Regions from separate parts of the Homo sapiens genome. Here regions 1, 3 and 4 are each linked to region 2. The links are contacts of gene promoters, found by promoter capture Hi-C in blood cells and fetal thymus (Javierre and others, 2016). All regions are on one chromosome and are shown on one strand. The core of a region is centred on a gene start or on the middle of the fragment in contact, and the rest is flanking DNA. Distances in the headings are between cores, read along the strand shown. Region 1 holds the start of PSD3 (pleckstrin and Sec7 domain containing 3). Region 2 holds the start of CSGALNACT1 (chondroitin sulfate N-acetylgalactosaminyltransferase 1). Region 3 overlaps PSD3 (pleckstrin and Sec7 domain containing 3). Region 4 overlaps PSD3 (pleckstrin and Sec7 domain containing 3).

The links. The method cuts DNA at HindIII sites, captures the fragments that hold promoters and counts their contacts. A CHiCAGO score of 5 or more calls a contact.
Region 1: a fragment that was not itself captured here is called in contact with the fragment with the promoter of CSGALNACT1 in region 2 in 1 of 17 cell types (fetal thymus); the score reaches 5.9 in fetal thymus.
Region 3: a contact is called between a fragment that was not itself captured here and the fragment with the promoter of CSGALNACT1 in region 2, in 5 of 17 cell types (naive CD4 T cells, non-activated CD4 T cells, fetal thymus and 2 more). The highest score is 10.9, in naive CD4 T cells.
Region 4: a contact is called between a fragment that was not itself captured here and the fragment with the promoter of CSGALNACT1 in region 2, in 2 of 17 cell types (naive CD4 T cells and non-activated CD4 T cells). The highest score is 7.0, in naive CD4 T cells.

What each region holds. Positions count from the first base shown.
Region 1 is chr8:19,009,964-19,016,136 of GRCh38, reverse strand. PSD3 (pleckstrin and Sec7 domain containing 3) reads left to right here and starts at 2,434. Exons shown (of 16, transcript NM_015310.4): 1 at 2,434-2,574. The coding sequence starts at 2,554. LOC124901898 (a long non-coding RNA gene) reads right to left here and starts at 2,134. Exons shown (of 2, transcript XR_007060840.1): 1 at 1,941-2,134. RefSeq lists silencers at 2,291-2,380, 2,451-2,550. The HindIII fragment of the contact is 2,141 bases long and covers 1,424-3,564 here.
Region 2 is chr8:19,755,827-19,758,526 of GRCh38, reverse strand. It overlaps CSGALNACT1 (chondroitin sulfate N-acetylgalactosaminyltransferase 1), which reads left to right and starts at 1,250. Exons shown (of 9, transcript NM_001354483.2): 1 at 1,250-1,341. The HindIII fragment of the contact is 8,664 bases long and covers 1-2,700 here.
Region 3 is chr8:18,917,829-18,924,063 of GRCh38, reverse strand. All of the region lies in intron 2 of PSD3 (pleckstrin and Sec7 domain containing 3), which reads left to right. Among named protein-coding and RNA genes, the nearest start is that of PSD3, 93 kb to the left of the region's middle. The HindIII fragment of the contact is 467 bases long and covers 2,130-2,596 here.
Region 4 is chr8:18,896,517-18,902,885 of GRCh38, reverse strand. The region is part of intron 2 of PSD3 (pleckstrin and Sec7 domain containing 3); the gene reads left to right. Among named protein-coding and RNA genes, the nearest start is that of PSD3, 110 kb to the left of the region's middle. The HindIII fragment of the contact is 6,209 bases long and covers 1-4,978 here.

The sequences.
Region 1 (6,173 bases), core at 1,245-3,744, 740 kb after region 2:
TCATTTTTAATATTTCCAAAAGCCTAACAAAATATTTACACACAAAATACATGCTGGCAAAAATGAAATGTCAATGTTTATTTGATTTGCTTTAGGCTTCATTGACTTAGTAGTGGTAACACTGGCTAATTTATGCTGATCAGAACCTCTAACCATTTTATCTTTGATTATTTATAACTGGACGAATGAATGATTATTTAATAGATGTGATCAGCTTTATAAGTACAATCTTAAAATATTTTGGCTTCAGGGATAAAACCAATTAAAAATTTCCTTTGCGATGGAAATTGGAAACACATTTCTGTGGCTTCACTTATGAAATGCTCCTCTATTGAACATTCACTATAGGCCAGGAGCTTTCCTTAATTTATCATGCTAATAACACTTCTGTATGGCATTATTAACCCAATTTTATAAATGAGGAAACAGAGGCTCAGATTATAGATGTCTATGCCCAAGTCCCTTAACTAGAAATATCAAGTAAATCTATGTCCACCCTGCCTCCTATATGATTACTTTTTTTTGTTTGTTTATGAGTTGGTTAATTTCCCAGGTAAAGGCCAGTAGGCCAGTGGTCAAGCCTCAGGGTAGCAACTACATTTTGTACTGGGTCTTACTTTTGATGCTTTGCCAACAAAACCGTCAAGGAAGGCAGGAGTTGACTGGGAATAGGCACACTGGGACTGTCTCTGTAGGGTATGTACGCAAGGGTAAAGGGAGATCACAAACGAGAAATATGCCTGTATTCGTCCATTTTCACACTGCTGATAAAGACACACCGGAGACTGGGCAGTTTACAAATGAAAGAGGTTTATTGGACTTGCAGTTCCACATGGTTGGGAGGCCTCACAATCATGGCGTAAAGCAAGGAGGAGCATGTCACATCTTAAGCGGATGGCAGTAGGCCAAGAGAGAGCTTGTGCAACAAGCGCTCCCATTTTTAAAATCTTCAGATCTCGTGAGACTCATTCACTATGACGAGAACAGCCCAGGAAAGACCCGCCCCCATAATTCAATCACCTCCCACAAGGTTCCTCCCACACACCTGGGAACTGCGGGACTTACAATTCAAGATGAGATTTGGGTGGGGATACAGCCAAACCATATCAATGCCCAAGTGACTGGGGTGCTTCCAAACCTACACAGCTGCTCACACTGCTGCTCTGGCAGGGGGAGCATGAGCTGCGGACGTTTTTCTGAAGTTGGAGTGAATTTGTATAAAGGCATACACTCCCTCATGCTGGCTCCTCTGGTGGGTGTCCAAGGCTTCCTTTGATAGATGCAGATGGGGCAGCCAAGGCAAAGTAGGTGACTTATGTGGCCTTGGTGCATCTCAGCTATGCTCACCGGGCAGCCCATGCTGACATGGTGGGCGAGATCGTGGGGCCACCAGGGAACCTGACTCCACTCCCATCTCTAAGCTTGGCCAAGTCAGTCACTTCTCGTTATTGGGGCGTCTTCTACCTGTCACTTGAAAAAGACTGTTCTTTGGAACAATAAGGCGGTAACACATACACAGGACCACCCTGTAGCCGGCCACACAGGTTCCGCCTCCAGGTGCTTGGATCTACTTAACGGACCTCCCAGGGGGAAAGATTTGCGGTCTCTCCGTCCCTCTACCAGGGGAGGGCGCCGTTCCAGCCCTTGCCTCTGCGGCACAGATCAAAGGACGGAGGAAAAAAGGTGCGGGTCCGGGGCACTAATGTTCGAAAATGCAGTTTTAAGTGACCTCTCCCCGCGCACGCACTGTCGGTGGGGGCAGTCCCGAGGCCAGGCTGCGGGGCGCCTGGGGGGACTCGCCTCAGGGGGAAATGGCCCTTTCAGGGCTCGACGGGTCCCCGGGACTAAACGCTCCGGCCGCGGATCGGTGCCGGGGGAGCCCGGTCAGAGAGGCCGGGACCCCGAGGGACGCCTAGGTGCGTGTCCCGAAGCCCGCGTACCTCCAGCCCCGGCGAGACGGCGCCCAACTCGCGGCTCCAGTCACACGGCCCTTCCTGAGAGGAAACACCAGGGAAAGCACCTCTCACTTTTCTCAGGGTGGGAAAACTGTGAAGGAAGAAGACAAAGCAACAGGCAGGTTTTCGCTCGCGGGCTGGAGGCTGGGCCCAGGGCGGGCGCGCGGCTGCGGGAGGCAGCGGACGGTCCGGGCCGCTCGAGGGCTGCACTGCGAGGGTCTGGATCGCCTCCAGCCTCCCCCGGAGGCCCCGCCCCTGCCCTGGAGACCCCGCCCCCGCCTCGGAGGCCCAGCCACCTCCCCCCTCCCCGAGGCGTCGGCCCCGCCTCTCCGCCCTCCGCCCTCCGCCCCCGGGGCCCGCCACCGCCGGCCCGCCTGCGCCGCCTTCGCTTTGACGTTACTGGGGGCCGGGCGGGCGGCTGCCGCGGGCTCGCAGCCTCGCCAGCCTCCGCCAGGGTGCGCGCGGGCCGCCGCCTCTCGGCAGTCCCGGGAGCTCAACAAAGAGCACGCGGCGCTGGCCGCCGGCACTCGCGCCCTGAGGCTGCGGCCCCGGAGCGCCCGGCGGCGGTTTCGGCGCGCGGCCGGGCTGGCGATGGAAGATGGAAGGAAGGAGCGCAGCGGTGAGCTCCGGGGCCGGGGCGCGGGCGCGGGGTGCGCACGCGGCGCCGCTGTTCGACGTGGGGTTTGTGTTGCTTTGTCGCCGCTCTGTCCCCCAGGATCCCGGGGCCACCTGGGTTTGTGCTGTCTGGATAGGTGCAGGGTGCGATTTTTCTCTTCGCGCTTGCTTGCTTTGTGTTTTTTAGGAGCCCAGCAGGGTCAACTTTGTGGTGTTAAGGTTTAGGGGTTTTAGTTCATACCTCGGCTTTGAAAACCTCAGACTTTGGAGAAAAGCTATCAAAAGAAGGCAACATGAAAGAGGACCTCGTATGCCGATCTTTCTTTGCCCGGTCAGCTTGTATTTAGGGACTATCACGTTTCTGTCAGAAAGAAAGAAAAAAAGACTAAACTAAACAAACTTGAATTGAGCGAGCAAACGGACAAGGGAAGATTATTCGGTGCAATTCCCAGGAGCTTTTACAGATGTTTAAGTCATTCTGTTTTACATGCATTTAACTTTATCCGCCGTTTTCAGCTTTCCGTTCTGGCGAATGATGTTCTGAATTTTTTTTTTAAACACATTAACACCGATTAGAGGACGTGGGTTTAGAATGTTGTTGGTGACCTAAATAATAAATGTTTCGTTTTGCCATTCCCCTCGATGTCAAAGGATGTTAAACGCCCACTAGGCAGAGGATGGAATGGGCACCACGATTTCATTTTCTAGACACTGGTTCTCCCGATAGCGGGATCCAGGATTTCCGCTCCAGAATAACTCTTGAGTGGGTCCAGGTGTTGGTGTAGGGAAGACGGAGATCTGGAAAATTACTGTAAGTGGGATTCTGGCAACAAATGCCTCAATGCGTTCGTTGTAATTGAGTATGTGCAAAGGATTTTGCAAAGCCCGGTAGCTAGGTAAGTAGGATAGGATTTCTGCTTTCAAGAAGCGTGCTTGAGAGCTTGCCTGGGAGAGACTTATGCGTAGGCTACCATGGAGGATCTCAGAGGAAGCTTCTGGCCTCCGGGCTTGGAAGTTCTCAGAGAGGAGCTGGCAGTTATGCTGGACCTTGAAAGGGAGGGGTTGATTGGATTTTTGTGAGATGTGAGGGAAAGGATGTCCCCTGCTAAAGGAAAGGGAATTCACTTTCTACCCTTTTCCAAGAAATGATCCTTTCTTTTCTGAGAGTATTTACAAACCAAGAGGTTTTCTTTTCAAAAAGTCATGAAATTCCTCTTCAGCAGTTAAAAGTGCAACATGCTCAACATCACCAGTTAAGCAAATGCAAAATAAATTAGCACCTTTTCAACCAGTTTTTAGTGGCTGGCTGGATGTCCTTCCACAACCTTTTTATATCCATCCACAAGTGATTTGTCTTGTAAGATATTTCATTAATAGAAGCTTTTTGTACTAAAAGGAGTAGAGTGGTATCAAGAAAGGGACTTGGATCTGTAGGTAGGACACCTAGCTTAGAGGCTTTGCCACTGACTGGGTGAGTTTTTGCCACCGTCTTGGGCAAATTATTTAACTTCTGTCGCTACAGTTTCCTGGTAGGGTGAGGGGATTAGGTAGATGCTCTTTCAGAGCCTTCTAGCCCTACCATTTGATATTTCCATGCCTAGACACGTTTTATGCATTACTTATTCAGTGATGTACTCTTAATTTCACATTCTAAATATCTGTTTGTGTGTTCTGTGAATGGATCAGCACTCTTATCCTGACCATTGAATGTGGGAGAGTGATTAGAGCTACAAAGCTAAAATAACCTTATTACGGCCAAATTCCGTGGTTGAATGTTGTTGTTGTTTTTTTTTTTTTAAATGCGAGCATAAGAAGCTTGATTTGCCAATCTTAATGTGTGTTTTCTTTAAAGAAAGTTTTGTTGACACTGTTCATTTGTGACCAAAGAATAACATATACCTTATTATGTACATTGCACTTAAGCAATTCAATTCTGCTTTTAATCAGATACTAGTAATTTAAAAAATTGAGTAACCTTGGAAATTCTTACAGGCTAGTAAATCTTGGGAATTTGGAAATAAAAAAATAAAGTAAGATGGAAGTAGCTCATTGAAAAAGAAAAATTTAAAGGTACTTTCAGTCAATGGCTCTGCCCTCTTTCTAAAACCTTGATATTTACATATTTGTTTGCCAGCCCTGATGGAAAATTATTTGAGTGGAATTTAGCGTGGCATTACATTGAAAAAACATGTCCATGGTACTACTACTTTTGGAGGTGATTTTTTTTCTTTTATAGAAATTCAGGTGTGATTTGTCATGCATTATTCATAAACTAAGACACCAGTGTGGTGATAGGTTAATTGCAGTCTTGGTTAAGAGATGCTGAGGCAAAACCATGTGAATATTAAAATGTGTATCTGCTTTGGCTTAAAGACTGGTTTGTTTGAGGTTTACATGGGGTAATGTCATTTGGACATTATGAAAAGAGTGTCTTTGGGTTTGGGTTGGATTGGGAGGTGAGTTATGGATAGTGATCGTTTCCAATTTTTGGAAAGGAATTCAGACATGATTGAAGTTGGGTCAGACTGTAAAAAATAATCTGGTGACCAAAGTCTGTGGAGTTTAGTATGTGAATCAGGCTTATAGGAGGCTGGGGATCTAGTGTGACCTTGAATTACTGCTGTTGTGATTCTCACCATTTAGGGGTTCTTCCCGGACCGTCTGGGCCAAGCACAGAGGTCCTTGGCTTCCCTTTGCTAAGAGTGGAAGTGTTTTCACTTTGAATATTGCCTCTCAGTTCTTCCTAGTTCTTTTACAGTTAAACCAGCCTGGCTTTCATTTAGGAGAGTACAGGATCCATGTGAAATTCTCCAGAGCATTTGTTCGGAGTGCCCATATCTTGACAGCTTGTGTTGTTTGTGATATTGTATGCAGACTCAGGGATTTGCTGGAAAGAATTTAAGTGGTGGCATTATTTTTTCAAAGAGTGTTTCTGAGTTACGTTGACCATCTTTCAAGGACATTTTTCACAAGCTCCAAATTAAGTAGTGTTGTAGTGGCTGTTGCAATTTACAATGGAGAAAAAGGATAATTTGCAGCATATAGTTAACAAGTTATTCTTAAATCCAAATTACCAAATGTCCATGCCTCATTTGAAAATAAGGCATAACTCAACATTAATAATGAATCTTTGCGTGTGCTATCTTATTTATATAAAAACAGTGCATGTCCCTGCAGTGCTTGTTTGCTCTACCAAAAGAAAGGTTTTTCACTGCGCCCAGAAGGTCAACAAACTTGGGCCCAGTTGGTGCCTAGTGGGGAGGGACTTTGTTGACACATCAGGGCACAGAGGTGGCAGAGCATTTTCTCTCTTGGTGACACCGGTGGTGTGAGGGATCCGCCCGCTCTTCTCCCCTTCCTGCATGTCAGGCTGCGGCCATGGCAGACCACTCACTCCTTGAGGCTTACTTGAGGACCACTCACTCCTGAGCCATCTGGTTTGAAATTCCCTTTCCTCTGAGTGTACATCAGTGAGATGAATCAGAATAATTTATACATGTTGAAGGATATTTTTAAAAGATTATTATTGGAGTTAGGGATTTAGGATAACTGGGAAAATTAACATTTTGACCTAAGCTGGTGTTCTTTTCTTACATGGTATTT
Region 2 (2,700 bases), core at 1-2,500:
ACGAGGGTGAAGAGTTCACTCAGGGTGTGGGGTGGGGATAGGTCCACCTGGGGAGTCCAGGTGGGAAGCAAAACTTGCTTCAGGGATGCTTCCTGCAGGTAAGCAGGAGCTTAATGGAAACCGAGCTGCTTCAAGACTGTGCCTATAGCCTCAGGACTGCCTACCCTGTGCCCACAATAAAGTCTGGTGCGCCGGAATCTCCCAGATGGAGACTCTGAGCCAGGCAGTAGAAGGAGCCATGGCCAGGTAGTAGAAAGAGCACTGCCTCAGGAGTCATAGGACTGGTTTCCAGCTCCGGTTCTGCGGTGGCTCAGCCCTGGGGCCTCTGCAAGTTGCTTAACCGCATCTGCAGGTGATGACCTCTTCCAGTCTAACTGACTCCTCCTGAGTCCCCCTCAATTACACTGAAAATTGGCGATCCTATTTCCCAACTCCCTCTCCCACAGAGATGCGCTGGAGCACTTACAGATAAAAGGCGACCTGTGGCCCTGGAGGGTGCCTGCCTGTGTGTGCTGGAGGTGGCGGTGGATCTTTTATTACCCAACACTCCACTTGCCTTTTTAGCCTTTCCTCTCCCTCTTCTCTCCTGGCCTCCCAGTGGCCGTCAGGGGTCCCTGCAGACATCGCTTACCCACAGTGGTGCGGTGTGAGAGTTACAGGGGTTCCTGACCTTCGCTGTAAGTAAAAGCTCTCTAGGGGAGGCGTTATAGCTGACCAGGGCAGCAGAGACCGCGACTAAAGCGTGAATTCCCCGAAGTGCGATTTACAAAGTTTTTGCATGGAAGTCGGCGCTCGGCGGGGAGGGCAGCCAAGGGAACAGAGCGGGTGGAGCAGGGGGATGGGGAACTCTGTCCTGCAAGAGTAAGGACCCCATGGAGATTGGACACCTCTCTCCTGCAACTCGGGCCACGCCACAGTGTCCTAGTCTCTAAACTTCTCCGGCTCTTGGTGTCCAGTCACGCGTAAACCGCCCCTGGTGTCCGAGCGCGGCCCCTTCCGAGAGTGACAGGCTTCGGCCAGGGCGCCGCTCCGACGGGCGCAGGGACGCACTGCAGAGAGGCCGTGGGTGACGCGGAGGTACGCGGCCAACCGCGACCCCAGCCCGGCCTTGGCCGCCCCCGCCGGACCTACCCTGCGGCGGGGCGCCAGGCTTGGCCGCTGTTGCGCCCGCCCGCCCGAGCCGCCGCCGCCGCCGCTGCTCCCCGCCCCCGGGGTCCCTGGAGGCTCCGCGGCTGCCGGAGCGGGAGGTGGAGCCGAGTCCGCGGCGGCCGCGCAGGAGGGAAAGTTCAGCGACGGCGGCAGCGGCCGGAGCCGGGCCGGGCAGCTAGCAGGGCGCTTCGGGTGAGTCGGGTCCCCTCCCGGGCCAGCCGGGCGCGGTGTGCCGCGCGGGGGCGTCAGTGGCGCCGGCAGATCCCCACAGCCCCGCGCGCCTAGCTCGCGCCCGCCCACCCCGCGACCTCGGGGTGGCTCGTGCAGCTGCGGAGGACGGTGCCGCGCCTGGCCTCCCTCCGCCGCTGCCCGCCGGGGGCCCAGGGCACGGGCAGGGGCCGGGGACCGGCTTGGCAGGCGGAGGGCGCGGCGCCTCCAGGTGGGCGCGCGGGGACGCGGAGGGAGCTTCCAGGGAGGGTCCGGGGCCGCTGCGCTCCCGGGGTCGGTTTGGCTTCACCAGCGTTTCTCGTGGCCTTCCGCTGTCTGATTGCTTTCTGCAAAACCCACTGAAAAGTAGCCTTTCCACGTGCCGCGCGATGACTGCGGTTATTGTATTATTGTGGCTGGGATGGAGAGGGTGGAGGGGGCGTGACGAGGGTGGCCGGTGGGCAGCGCGCTCGCCTGCCCGGGACCGGGCTAGTGGGGGATGTGGCTGAGGGTCACCGCTGCCCGAACATGCCCAGGGGACGTGCGATCGGTGGGCAGAAGCTGTTCGAGGGCATGATCTTGGGGTGGGATGGGGGCTAGAAGGGCGGGGAGGAGAGGAAAGCTGTAGGAAGCGGAGGCAAAGTTGTTTGTTTCCGTCGCACTTCCTGCACCTGCATTCCTGTCAGAGATTTTGAAGTTATCTTTTCATCGATGAGCAAAGAATGGTGAGAAAGGAAGAGATGTTAACAGCACTGTGCCTGCCAAAACAGTGAGCCTCGGGAAATACTCATAAGTGAAATACTAATAAAAAGCATGGAGTGGTTAAATTTCACAAACTCCACTTTTCTTCTGGTTTCAAAGCCTTGGTGCAGTTTTTACTTAACGTCATTAGATACGTCTAGATAATAAAGGTAATGAAGTGTTCTTTCACGGTTTTTTTTTTTAAACTGGAAATTTAAATTTAATTCTGTAGGATTTCGTCGACATTGTTCCTACAAGAAAGTCAAATTACCTTGGTGTTACTTGCAACAGTGAGCATTAATAAGCCCTGTGCAGTGCTGAAATGTTGCTAATTGGAGGGAGAAAGGTCCTTCAAACTTGGAAATAGACGCAGAAAGGCAAGATGAATTTTTATGTAAGCCTTAGGCATAAAAGGCGACTTGAACACGTTTTGTAATAGTGCATAATACACAGGGGACTAGGTGTTGGGCTGCCGGAAGATGGTCAATTCCTAGAAAGCAAGAGACGGGCCATACCCATTGTAAGATCACCGTACATATTTAATAATTCGTCTGCCTTGAGCTGCCACACCATATGTACTCCACATAATACAATATCAAAATA
Region 3 (6,235 bases), core at 1,114-3,613, 840 kb after region 2:
GGTGTTTTATATACTAAGATAACTAAGAAGTGTTGCAGAAATCAACCAGGAGAGCATACTGAAAAGCATATTTCTACTGTCTGTTCAGTGTTTTTGTCTACAAGATCTATTTTTTTAGATTGGTGTTTAATATATGTATATATATATAAAACACACACATATATGTATATATATATATTTAAAGTAGCTGTTGAAAAGCTGAGGAGCAGGATTTGACTTTTTTGAGAGTAGGATCAAATCAGCTTTGGAACAGCAGTGGACATCACATCTAACACTGTGAAGTATATACAGCCATGTGTCATCTAAAGAAAGGGACACATTCTGAGAAATGTGTCATAAAGCGATTTCATCTTTGTGCAAACATCATAAAATGTACTTACGCAAACCTAGATAGTATACCTACTGCACACCTAGGCTCTATGGCTTAGCCTGTTTTTTCTAGGCCACGAACCTACACAGCATATTACTGTATTGAATACTGTGGGCAATTGTAACACAGTGGTCTTTGTATGTCTAAACATAGAAAAGGTACAGTGAAAATATGGCATTATAATCTTATGGATCAGCGTCCTATATGTGGTCATTGGTGAGCCAGATGTCATTATGTGGCACATGACTATATTTGGTCTTCCCTCTGAGTTTCCTCTTAAAATTTCTAGGATTTTCAAAGTGGTATGTCTTTTTGTATGCTAATGAATTAACTGATGCCTGGCAACCCTTATGTGGCTTTAGAATGGGGCTACCTTGTCCAAGCTTAGAGCAAGCTTATGCAACCCACAGCCCATGGGCCACATGCAGCCCAGGACAGCTTTGAATGTGGCACAACACAAATTTTTAAACTTTCTTAAAACATTATGAGGTTTTTTTTTCAAAGCTCATCAGCTGTTGGTAGTGTTAGTGTATTTTATCTGTGGCCCAAGACAGTTCTTCCAGTGTGGCCCAGGGAAGCCAAGAGATTGGACACCCCTGGATTAGAGGGTTGAGACTTTCAGTCCCATCCCCTAACCTCTGGGGAGGGGAGAGGGGTGAAGTTTAAGGAAATCACCAATAGCCAATGATTGAGTGAATCATGCTTACTAATGAGGCCTCCATAAAAACCCAAAAGGACAGGGTTTGCAGAGCTCCCTGAAAGACGAACACATGGAGGTTCCAGGACGGCGGTGTGTCCAGAGAGGGCATGGAACTCTCTGCCCCCTCCCACATGCCTTGCCCCATGCATCCCTTTATCTGTATCCTTTGTAACAGCCTTTATCAGAAGTTGGTAAACATAAGTGGTTCCCTGTGTTCTGTGAGCTGATTTAGCAGATTAATCGAACCCAAGGAGGGGGCTGTGAGAATCCTGATTTATAGCCAGTCAGAAGCGCAGGTGAAACAACCTACGGCTTTAGATGGGCATCTGAAGGGAAGGGGCAGTCTTGGAGACTGAGTCCCCAACCCGTGGGATCTAATACTGTCTCGAGTTAGATAGTATTGCAGTTGAATTGAATTACAGGACACCCAGGTGGTGTATCCTGCAGAATTGATTGCTTGCTCGGTTTGTGGGGAAAACATTTGGTCACAGAAGTCTTCTGTGTAGGTTGAGTGAGAGAATAGGAAAAGCACTTCCGTTTAGTTTATTCCTGTGTTCTCAGAATGTCATAATTAGAACTGAGAACTTTAATCTCCACAGACTTGCTGCACCAGATGTAATTGAGGTCAAACTTTTTTCATGTGCTTATTAGCCATTTATGATTCATTTTGAAAGATTTTCCTGTTCACGAGTTTTATATTGGAGAGCTTGCCTTTTATTGACTTACAGAACTCTTTGGGTTCCGTTAGGACGTGTTAGAGTAAACTTTAGGTCCTTGAGATGTTGCAGAATCCCTGAACAAACCGTTTTTTCATTGTCAGGTGTATGAACTGACTCACAAAGTATGTTTTTAGCAGTCTCCCTTCATGGATCCTTGAATAAACTATCTACTCTTCAGTTTTATTTTTAGGTAGGAAATATCTTTTCCCTTCTATAAAGCAGAAGTGACATACTGGCATTTTTAACTTATGATTTATTTGGTCTAACCAATGTTTTATTAAAATATTGAGCTAACTTTTAAAAACTGGGAGATTTCATGTAAAAATCCAGACTTGAAGCTTCTGTTGCTGAATTTGAGGAATGCCAACACTGAGTGTGCCTTGGCATTGACATGAAATAGTGCTGGTGCCTTCAGAGCACAGGTACTTGGTCACCACTCCCTCCTGTGTTCTCATACCTTGCCTGCCTTACTCATTTATATTATCTCCTGAAGCCCGTGAACACTGGGCTTATGGCCTCTGCATACATAGTGTATGACTTTATACTTTTGCCCATGTGTTCCAGTTGTGAGTTTCATTATGTCACACTTTGCAACCCCAAGTAGCATCCAGAGATGGATTTTCTATGAAGCCAATGCAGGAAGCATTCCCAAGGCTCCCAGAAACCTGCCATTTTTTTGTTCTTTTTCTTAAAGAGACTCCCCGTGACCACCTGCCCAGTTGTGTGTAGGTTTCAGGACCCACAAAACTAGATCTGCCTCTGCCAGCATGAGGATCTCCTGTAGACCTTTTAAGAAATAATAAAGCTTCCTAGGCTCTACTTAACCCATGCCTATGCAGTTAGAATCTGTGGGCAAGGGATGACCCAAGCATCTCTACATTTTAAGCATCTCCCCTAGTGTTTGTTGTCATGCACATACAGGCTCGAGAACCATTGTGTTTTAAAAGATAATTTACTTGAGATGTTTATAAACCATTTTAACACTAAAAGGATGCATTTTGGAATCATTTAATACATTTAAACTGTAGTTTGATATATTTTACTGACATGCAGAGCTGAACTGCTTAGGAACCACTGCCAATTGAATACTAATAGTGAGAAGATAATTCTGAAATTGAAATATGTCAACAGGAAAATGCAATTTGATTGTTAAAAAAAGTAGTTTACATTTGTTTTTTCAAGGATTTCTGAAGAAGGTTTCTCATATCTGTGAAACTGTCATTCCATTCATGTAGAATTTCACCAGCAATTTCTGTTATGGTAGAATTTATGTAAATATTTGCTTTTGAAAATATTATAAGTATAGGTAGAATCACGCAGAGATTCTGGAGTCACTATCATGTATGATAGTGTCACAAGGGAAAATAATACTATAGCCTGACACAGGTACCTCTATTCATATTGTTTGGGGAGGTTGAATGGTTGGGTATATTTTTAGTTATCACAGTGATTGGGGATGGAGGGCTAGGTGGCTACTAGCCTTTAATAGGTGGTGATGAGGCATGCTAGACAAGTTTTAGTCCCTGGGATAGTACCACACCAGGAAGAACTATTCTACATTCTGTATGGCCTCGAATGTCCTGTTGGACATTCATGTAGGAGAAAAATATGTTTCTAATGATCCGGCCTTAGGATATGTCAATAAAAGGTTTTTTACTTAAATGGTTTTAAGTATCAGTGAGTTTTCTAGGACTGTAACTACCATGTAAATCGAGAGAAGATTATACTTTGTTTTGTTTGCAAATTTACTAAAAGTTGTTTACTATTTCAAAGTATCACATCCAAGAAAGCAGCGCTCATGCTCCCGCATCACCATTTCAATACCGCTGTATCTGTCCACACTCGAACCTTGCTTTCAGCATGATTCTCCTTTAGGTACAAGCAAGTGTCTGACTAACCTGAGCATTTATGTAATGAAAATCATTTTAATTTTATTTCCCCTTTGTGATATTTAGGGCATTATATGGATTATTTTGAATTTTATATTTAGGCAGTTATATTGTTGATGGATTTCACTGTAGGATAATAAAGAAGGCATTGCAAAATGTTACGAAAAGGTATTTTTGCCCTTAAAGAGTTGAGAATTGCTGTTTTAAAGCGATGGTTCCTAAGCATCAGGGCACATTAGATTGTCCTGTAGAAGTTTTGGAAATGATCATTGTGAACCTGCCCTAGAAATACTAATTTAGTAGTTCTCTAGGAAATTCTAGAAACTCCATGAAACTTTTTTTTTTTTGTGATTGTTTTTTTTTTTTTTAATTTATTTATTTTTTTATTATACTTTAAGTTTTAGGGTACATGTGCACATTGTGCAGGTTAGTTACACATGTATACATGTGCCGTGCTGGTGCGCTGCACCCACTAACTCGTCATCTAGCATTAGGTATATCTCCCAATGCTATCCCTCCCCCCTCCCCCCACCCCACCACAGTCCCCAGAGTGTGATGTTCCCCTTCCTGTGTCCATGTGATCTCATTGTTCAATTCCCATCTATGAGTGAGAATATGCGGTGTTTGGTTTTTTATTATTGCGATAGTTTACTGAGAATGATGATTTCCAATTTCATCCATGTCCCTACAAATGGCGCACATAGAAAATTACACTCTTTGTATTGCGCAGGGAAGTGAAGGAAAGCAGTGGTCTTGGGCTGCAGGTGACAGTTTCTGGGGATCCTGGCCGCCCCAGTCCTGCCCCGCCCCACCTTGCAAGCCAACGATCTGTTTCCACCTTGGATGCTTTCCATGCTTGTTAAAAATTCAGATTCTTGAACCTCACTCCAGTAATTCTGATTCTGTTTGACTCAGAAATCTAGTATTGAATGAGCTCTCGGATGATCCCGATTCAGGTAGTCCTTGGATGGCTGCTTGAGCAATCCTGTTCTCACGGGTCAGGGGCAATAACTGTGTGGTGTGTGAAAAAGAAAGAGAAAAAGGAAAGGTGGGGCTCCTTTCTAAGGGTGTGTGAGGTAATGCTAAGAGATTTCTGAGATAAAGCAGAGATACGAAACTCCTTCCTGGCTGGCGTTTCTCTATCAAGGAGTACAGTCAGCTTGTTTGAAAGGGTAGAACAAACACTGCTAGAAGAAGCTGAAGCCCCGGAAGAGATCACCTGGCTCCTTTTGTATGAATTTAAACTCTGAGGCATAATATCCTAAGAAACTGAGCATATTTGCAGGTAAATTATATATCCACTCTAGATATTCTTTGAAAATCATGAAGATAGGGACTAGTGCTTAAAAAAAAGAATCCAAGAGGCAAAACCTTAATCTGTAGAAAGGAGAATTAAGGAAATTGTAGAGCCTGGTGAGTTTCAGGGCGGTCTTTAGCCAAGCTTTAGAGGATTATTAAAAATATTGCAAGACCAGATAGTCTTCCCCGGGTCTGAACTGGCACTTATGAATGACGACTGAATGGTGGGAACCAGGGAAAGGGGCACGGTACAGGTACAGTGCCCTCCCTCCACGTAGAAGACCAAAAAGGTGGGGTGAGAGGCTTTGAGGGTGGTGGAAGTTTGACAGGTTGGTGGAACTGGAAGCTGTGTTGCATAGCTGGAAACCCACACATTATTCACATTTTCTGAATGGATGTTATTGGAACACAGTTGGAGAAATGCTGATGTACTGGGAACAGGCCTGGGCAAAGAATCAAGAGGCCTAGTTTTTTGTTTATTAGTATGTCAAGTACCAGATGCTAAAAACTTCCTTCAGTACATTCCTGGAAGTATTTACTTTTTCAACACGCATTCAGTGAATACCTGTAGTTGCTGGGCTAGAGGTAGAAATATGAAGCCTACAGCCTGACTGTGAAGTCTGGTTGGAGAAACAGGCAAGTAATAACATGATTCTGACACAGGATGATACCTGCTACAGTAGAGGTAAGAACAGAGGCTTTGGGAGGCTGTGAATTTGTACCTCAGTCAGGATGGAGAGAAGGCTTCTTGGAAGAGGTGACATCTGAGATCTGAGCAGAGTTTTTGAAGATAATTTAGAACGGGTGCTGGGAAGAAAGATGTTTTGACAGTGGCAGAAGCACATATAAAGCTGTGGTGTTGTGCAGACCATGGCTTGGTCAGAGCAGCTGGTGTCAAGAGGGAGCAATGAACTAGAAGACTTCAGGTGGGCAGGGACTAGGTTATGAATGGTCTTACGTGCCATGCTAAAGCATGCTGTAAGTGTGTATTTTATTAATTTTTTAAAAAAATAATGGATTGATTCTCCACATTTAGGGTTTAGGAAATCAGTCTGGAAATCATTCTGGAAGTAGGAAATCTAGAGATAGATTGTGGTTTTGGAGAGGTGAGATTGGAGGCAGTGAACCTTGTTAGGATACATAAATACATAAACACACACGCCCACCTGCCCACACCCACACACCGGTGGCTTAGACAAAATAAAAGTTCTCTTCCATGAAAGGAATCCAGATAGATGATTCACAGCTTGTATGTTGG
Region 4 (6,369 bases), core at 625-3,124, 860 kb after region 2:
AAAATGAGAATAGGAGGACTGAAGACATTAGCAGCCTATGCCACTGTCACCACTGCCACGAACATCTACAACATACGCCACTGAGGCACCCACAGTTATTGCTGACATTGAATGCAGATGAAGAGTCTGCACAGAGACTCTACTACTGCACCTGTCTGGAAACAGTTACCACATTCTTTCCAACCAGCACAGTAAAACCCTACTGAAGGTCAAAGTCTTTCTGTACAAAAGCCAGTCTAGTAAGTTTGGAAGAGGCTACCGTTCCACCAGACATCAACACACAGATATCTGCCACACAGACATCAACACAGGGAGACAAGACATGAAAAGGCAAGGAAATATGACACCACTAAAGAAACATAATAACTCTGTAATAACAGACCTCAGTGAAAAAGAATTCAATGACTTGGTGGAATATGAATTCAAAGTAATAATTTTATGGTAACTCAGTGAAAAACAGAAAAGAGAGACAATTTAATGAAGTCAGGAAAACAATTCACCATGTGAATGAGAAATTCAGCAAAGAGAGAGAAATTATAAAAAAGAATTAAATAAAAATCCTGTATTTGAAGAATTCAATCAGTGAAATAAAAAAATACAGCAGAGACCTTCAATAGAAGACTTGATCAAGCGTAAGAATCTCTGAAGTGAAGAAAGCCTATAAGACTTGTGGGACACCATTAAGTAAATAAATATTTGTGTTATGGGATTTGCAGAAGGAAAACAGAAAGAAAAAAGCATAGAAAGCATATTTAATGAAATAATAACTGAAAACTTCCCAAGTTTGGGGAGAGATATGGACATCTAGAGCCAGGAATCTCAAAAGTCTCCAAATAAATTCCACCCAAAAAGGTCTTTTTTTTTCTTTTTTCTTTTTTGCCTGAGGCACATTTATGTCAAATTGACACAAGTCAAGGACAAAGAGGAAATTCTAAAAACAGAAAAAGAGGAGAGTCAAATCACATCTAAGGGACTCTCCATTAGACTAATAGCACATTTCTCTGCAGAAACCTTACAGGCTAGGAGAGAATGGGCTGATACATAGTCAAAGAGCTGAAAGAGAAATACTGCCAGCCAGGAATACTATGCCCAGCAAAGCTATCCTTTAGAGATGAGGGAGAAATAAAGTATTTCCCAGACAAACAAAAACTGAGAGAATTCATTACCACTAGGCCAACCTTACAAAAAGTGCTCAAGGGAGTCCTGCATCTGGAAGTGAAAAGATGAAAATCACTATCATGAAAACAGGCAAAATTATAAAACTCACTGGTGGAGCAGATACACAAAGGAGAAAGAGGAAAGAATCAAGACTTAGGCTACAGAAAACCACCAAACTGCAATGATAGAAAAAGAGGAAGAAAGGAACGAAAGGAGGAAGAAAGGAACAAAGGATATACAAACAACTTCAAAAACAAATTAACAAAATAACAAGAGTGTGTTCTCGCCTATCAATAATACCCTTGAATGTCAATGGATTAAATTCTCCACTTAAAAGATATAGACTGGCTAAATGGATGAAAAAACATGACCCAGCTCTATGCTGCCTACAAGAAACTCACTTTACCTGTTGACTATTAACAACACAGGTTTTGACCTGCACAGGTCCACTTATATTCAAATATTTTAAACAATAAATATGTTGTTTAATTTTTTGGGAGATTTGCAACAATTTGAGAAAACTTGCAGACAAACCATGTAGACTAGAAATACTGGAAAAATGAACAAGAGTTGTGACATGAATTCATAAAATATATGTAGATACTAGTTTAATCATTTATTACCATGAAATAGAAACACATCTACTTTAAAAAGTTAAAGTTTATCAAAACTTATATACACCAGACTGTACATGGTGCCATTTGCAGTCCCGAGAAATGTAAAGAAACATAAAGATGCAGTATTAAATCATAACTGCATACAATTAACTGTAGTACATACTGTACTATATAATAATGTTGAAGCCACCTGTTGTTGCTATTGCAATGAGCTTGAGTGTTGTATCTGCTTAAAACACTGTGTGATGCTAACAGCTCCATGTGAACCATTCATCTGTCCAGTAAATTATGTGTTGTATTAAAAAGTGATCTCCATGTTGGTGCACACCTGTAGTCTCAGCTACTTGGGAGGCTGAGGTGTCAGGATGTCTTGAGCCCAGGAGTTTGAGCTATGATTGTGTCACTGCATTCCAGCTTGAGTGACAGAGCAAGACCCTGTCTCCCAAAAAAAAAAAAAAAAAAAAAAAGAGTTGTCTCTCATGGTTTTTGTGTATTTTTCATCATGTTTAGTTCACTACTATAAACCTTAATAACACCGTGGAACCCATACAAAGTACCACTAGTGATGCTGGAAGTGCTCCCAAGAAGCAGGGAAAATTCATGATGTTATAAGAAGGGTGAATTGCTTGATATGTACCAAATGGATTGAGGTCTGCAGCTGTGGTCACCTGCCATTTCAAGATAAAAGAATCCAGCAGTGTAAGTACCGTTGTAAGAAAAGAAAAGGAAATTTGTTGTCACTGCAGCTCCCTCAGTAGGCACAAAACCTTGAACTTTTTTATATTGAAAATGTAGCTGTTATGTGGATGCAGGATACCTATAAGAAAATCATGCCTATAGACTCTACAATGATTTAAGAAAAAATGAGGTTAGTGTATGACAACTTAAAGCAAAAGGAAGGTGTTAGATCTAAACTTGGAGAATGTAATGCCAGCAAAAGATGGTTCGATAATTTTAGAAAGAGATTTGCCTTAAAAAATGTCAAGATAACAGGAGAAGCAGCAGACAGCCAAGAAGCAGTAGACAAGTTCCCAGACACCATTAAGAAAATCATTGAGAAGAATGGATATCTGCCTGGCAGGTTTCTTTCTTTTTTTTCTTGTAGAAAAAAAGTGCCCCCTTTCTGGAAAACAGTTCCACAAAGGACATTTATTAGTAAGGAAGGGAAGTGAGTACGAGGATTTAAGGCAGGAAGGGATAGGCCAACTGTATTGTTTTATGCAAATACAGTTGGATTTATGATGAGGAATGCCCTTGTCTATAAATTTCTAACCCCTGAGCCTTGAATAGAAAAGATAAACACAGATACCAATCTTTGGGTTATATAACAAGAAGACCTGAACAACAAGAACTCTTCTGCTGGATTGGTTCCATCAGTGCTTTGTCCCTAAGTTCAGGAAGTACCTTGCCAGTAAGGGACTGCCTTTTAAAGTTCTTTTGATATAGGACAATACCCTTAGCCACCCAGAACTCTATGAGTTCAACAGTGAAGACATCGAAGTCATCTGCTTGCCCCCAAACACAGTATCTCTAATTCAGCTTCTACATCAGGGGGTCATAAGGACCATTAAGGCTCACTACACACAGTGTTTTATGGAAAGAATTGTTAGTGCTATGGAAGAGAACCCTGACAGAACATCATGAAAGTCTGGAAGATTGCATCGTTGAAGATTCCATTGTTAAAGGAAAAGCTGTGAAAGCCTTGAAATCTGAAACAATAAGTTCTTGCTGGAGAAAACTTTATCCAGATGTTGTGCAGGACTTCACAGGATTTACATTTGAGCCAATCAAGAAAATCATGACAAGATATTGTAGATATGGGAAAAAAGGTATGAGGGGTGGTGAGGAAGGATTTCAAGATGTAGATATCAGAGAAATTCAAGAGCAAATAGGTATCACACCAGAGAAGTTAACAGAAGATGAATTGCTGGAGATGAGTGCTTCAAAATTAGTGCCAGATGATGAGGAAAAAGACGTGGAAGAAGCAGTTCTAGAAAACAAATTGACATGAGATAATCTGGCAGAATGGTTCCCATGATTCCAGACTGTTTTTGACTTCTTTTATGATGTTGACCCTTCTATCATATGGGCACTGAAACTAAAGCAAACAGTGGAAGAAGGATTGGTACTGTATAGAAGAAACATTTTTGGAGAAATGAAAAAGTTAAAAAGACAGAAACTATGATTATGTCTGTACATTTACACTGAATGTGCCTGCCTCTCTTGCTTCCTGTTCTTCTTCCTCTACCTTTTCTGCCTCTCCCATCCTTGAGATGAGGACAACTCCTTTCTCCTCCTCTTCAGCTTATTCAATGAGAAATTGAGGATGAAGACCTTTATGATGATTCATTTCCACTTAATGAATAGTAAATATATTTTCTCTTCTTCATCATTTTCTTAGTAACATTTTCTTTTCTCTAGTTTATTATAAAAATAAAGTATATAATACATACAACATGCAAAATATGTGTCCATTCCCTATTTATATTATCAGTAAGACTTCTAGTCAATAGTAGGCTAATATGTTAGTAGCTAAGTTTTTGGAGAGTCAAAAGTTATGTGGATTTTCAACTGCATGGTGGTGGTGCTCAGTGCCCCTAAATCCCATCTTATTCAAAGGTCAACTGTAGACTGAATGTGAAAGTATGGAAAAAGACATTCCATGCAAACAGAACCCAAAAGCAAGCAAATGTAGTCATTCCTATATCAGATAAAACAGACTTTAAGTAAACTCATGTAAAAAGAGACAAAGAAGGTCATTATACAGTGATAACAGGATCAATTCAGCAAGCAGATATAACACTTATAAACGTATATGTACCTAATACTGGAGCACCCAGGTAATCAAAGCAAATATTATTAGATTTAAATTGCACTTAAACAGGACAGTAATAGTTGGGCACTTAAACACCCCTCTAAGCATCAGATAGATCATCTATACAGAAAACAAACAAAGCAACATTGGATTTAAACTGCACTTTAATCAAACTCTCAGCAAGTTAGGTAAGAAGGAACATACCTCGACACAGTCAAAGCCGTATATGAGAAAACCATAGCCAACATTATACTGAACTGGGGAAAGCTGCAAACTTTTCCTCTAGCTCTGGAACAAGACAAGAATGACCACTTTCTCCATTTTTTTTCAGGAGTACTAGAAGTTTTAGCCAGATAAATGATCTTATATAAATAAAACTATGAAAGCTTCAAAAAATAAAAACCTCTGAACTGACCGTCTAATTCAGTAAAGTTGCAGGATACAAAATCAACTTAGAAAAATCAGTGGTGTTTCTATATACCAACATTCAAATAGCAGAAAAAGAAAGTAAGAAAGCAATTGCAGGTACAGTAGCTACAAAAAGTAAAATACCTAGGGAAAAATTTAACCAAGGAAATGAAATGTCTCTGCAAGGAAAACTATAAAACACTGATGTAAGAAATTGCAGCAGGCATATGCAAAAATAAAAACACATTGCATTTTCATGAATTGGGAGAATTAATATGGTAAAAATGGCCATACTACAAAAAGCAGTATACTCATTCAGTGCATTCCCTATCAAAGTACCAGTGTCATTCATCACAGAAATAGAAAAAACAGTCCTAAAATTTGCCTAGAACCACACAATACCCTGGATAGCCAAAGCAAGAAGAACAAAGCTTGAGACATCACACTACCGGACTCCAAAATATACTGCAAAACCATAGTAACCAAATAGCATAGTACTGTCATAAAAACAGATACACAGACCAATGGAACAGAATATAGAACCCAGAAAAATAAATCTCATCTTTATAGCCGACTCATTTTCAACAAAGGCACCAAGAACATTCACTGGGAAAAGGACAGTCTCTTCAATAAGCAGACACATCACGTCTCAAAAGAAGACATATAGATGGCCAACAGGTATATGAAAAAATACTGAACATCAGGGAAATGCAAATCAAAACCATAATGAGATATTATATCAACCTAGCTAGAATGGCTGTTATCAAAAAGACAAAACATAGGCCGGGCACGGTGGCTCACGCCTGTAATCCCAGCACTTTGGGAGGCTCAGGTGGGCGGATCACCTGAGGTCAGGAGTTCGAGACCAGCCTCAACATGGAGAAACCCTGTCTCTACTAAAAATACAAAATTAGCCGAGCATGGTGGTGCATGCCTGTAATCCCAGCTACTCGGGAGGCTGAGGTAGGAGAATTGCTTGAACCTGGGAGGCGGAGGTTGTGGTGAGCCGAGATCATGCCATTGCACTCCAGCCTGGGCAACAAGAGCAAAACTCTGTCTCAAAACAAAACAAAACAAAAAAAGACAAAACATAAAAAAATGCTAGTGGGATTAAGAGAAAAGGGAAACTCTTACACATTGTAGGTGGGAATGTAAATTAGTAAACCCATTAAGGAGGCCAGGCATGGTGGTGCACGCCTGTAATTCCAACACTTTGGGAGGCCGAGGTGGGCAGATGGCTTGAGCTCAGGAGTTCAAGACCAGCCTGGGCAATCTGGTGAAACCTCATCTCTACAAAAAATACAAAAATTAGCTGAGGTGGTGGTGTGTGCCTGTAGTCCCTGCTACTTGGGAGGCTGAGGTGGGAGAATC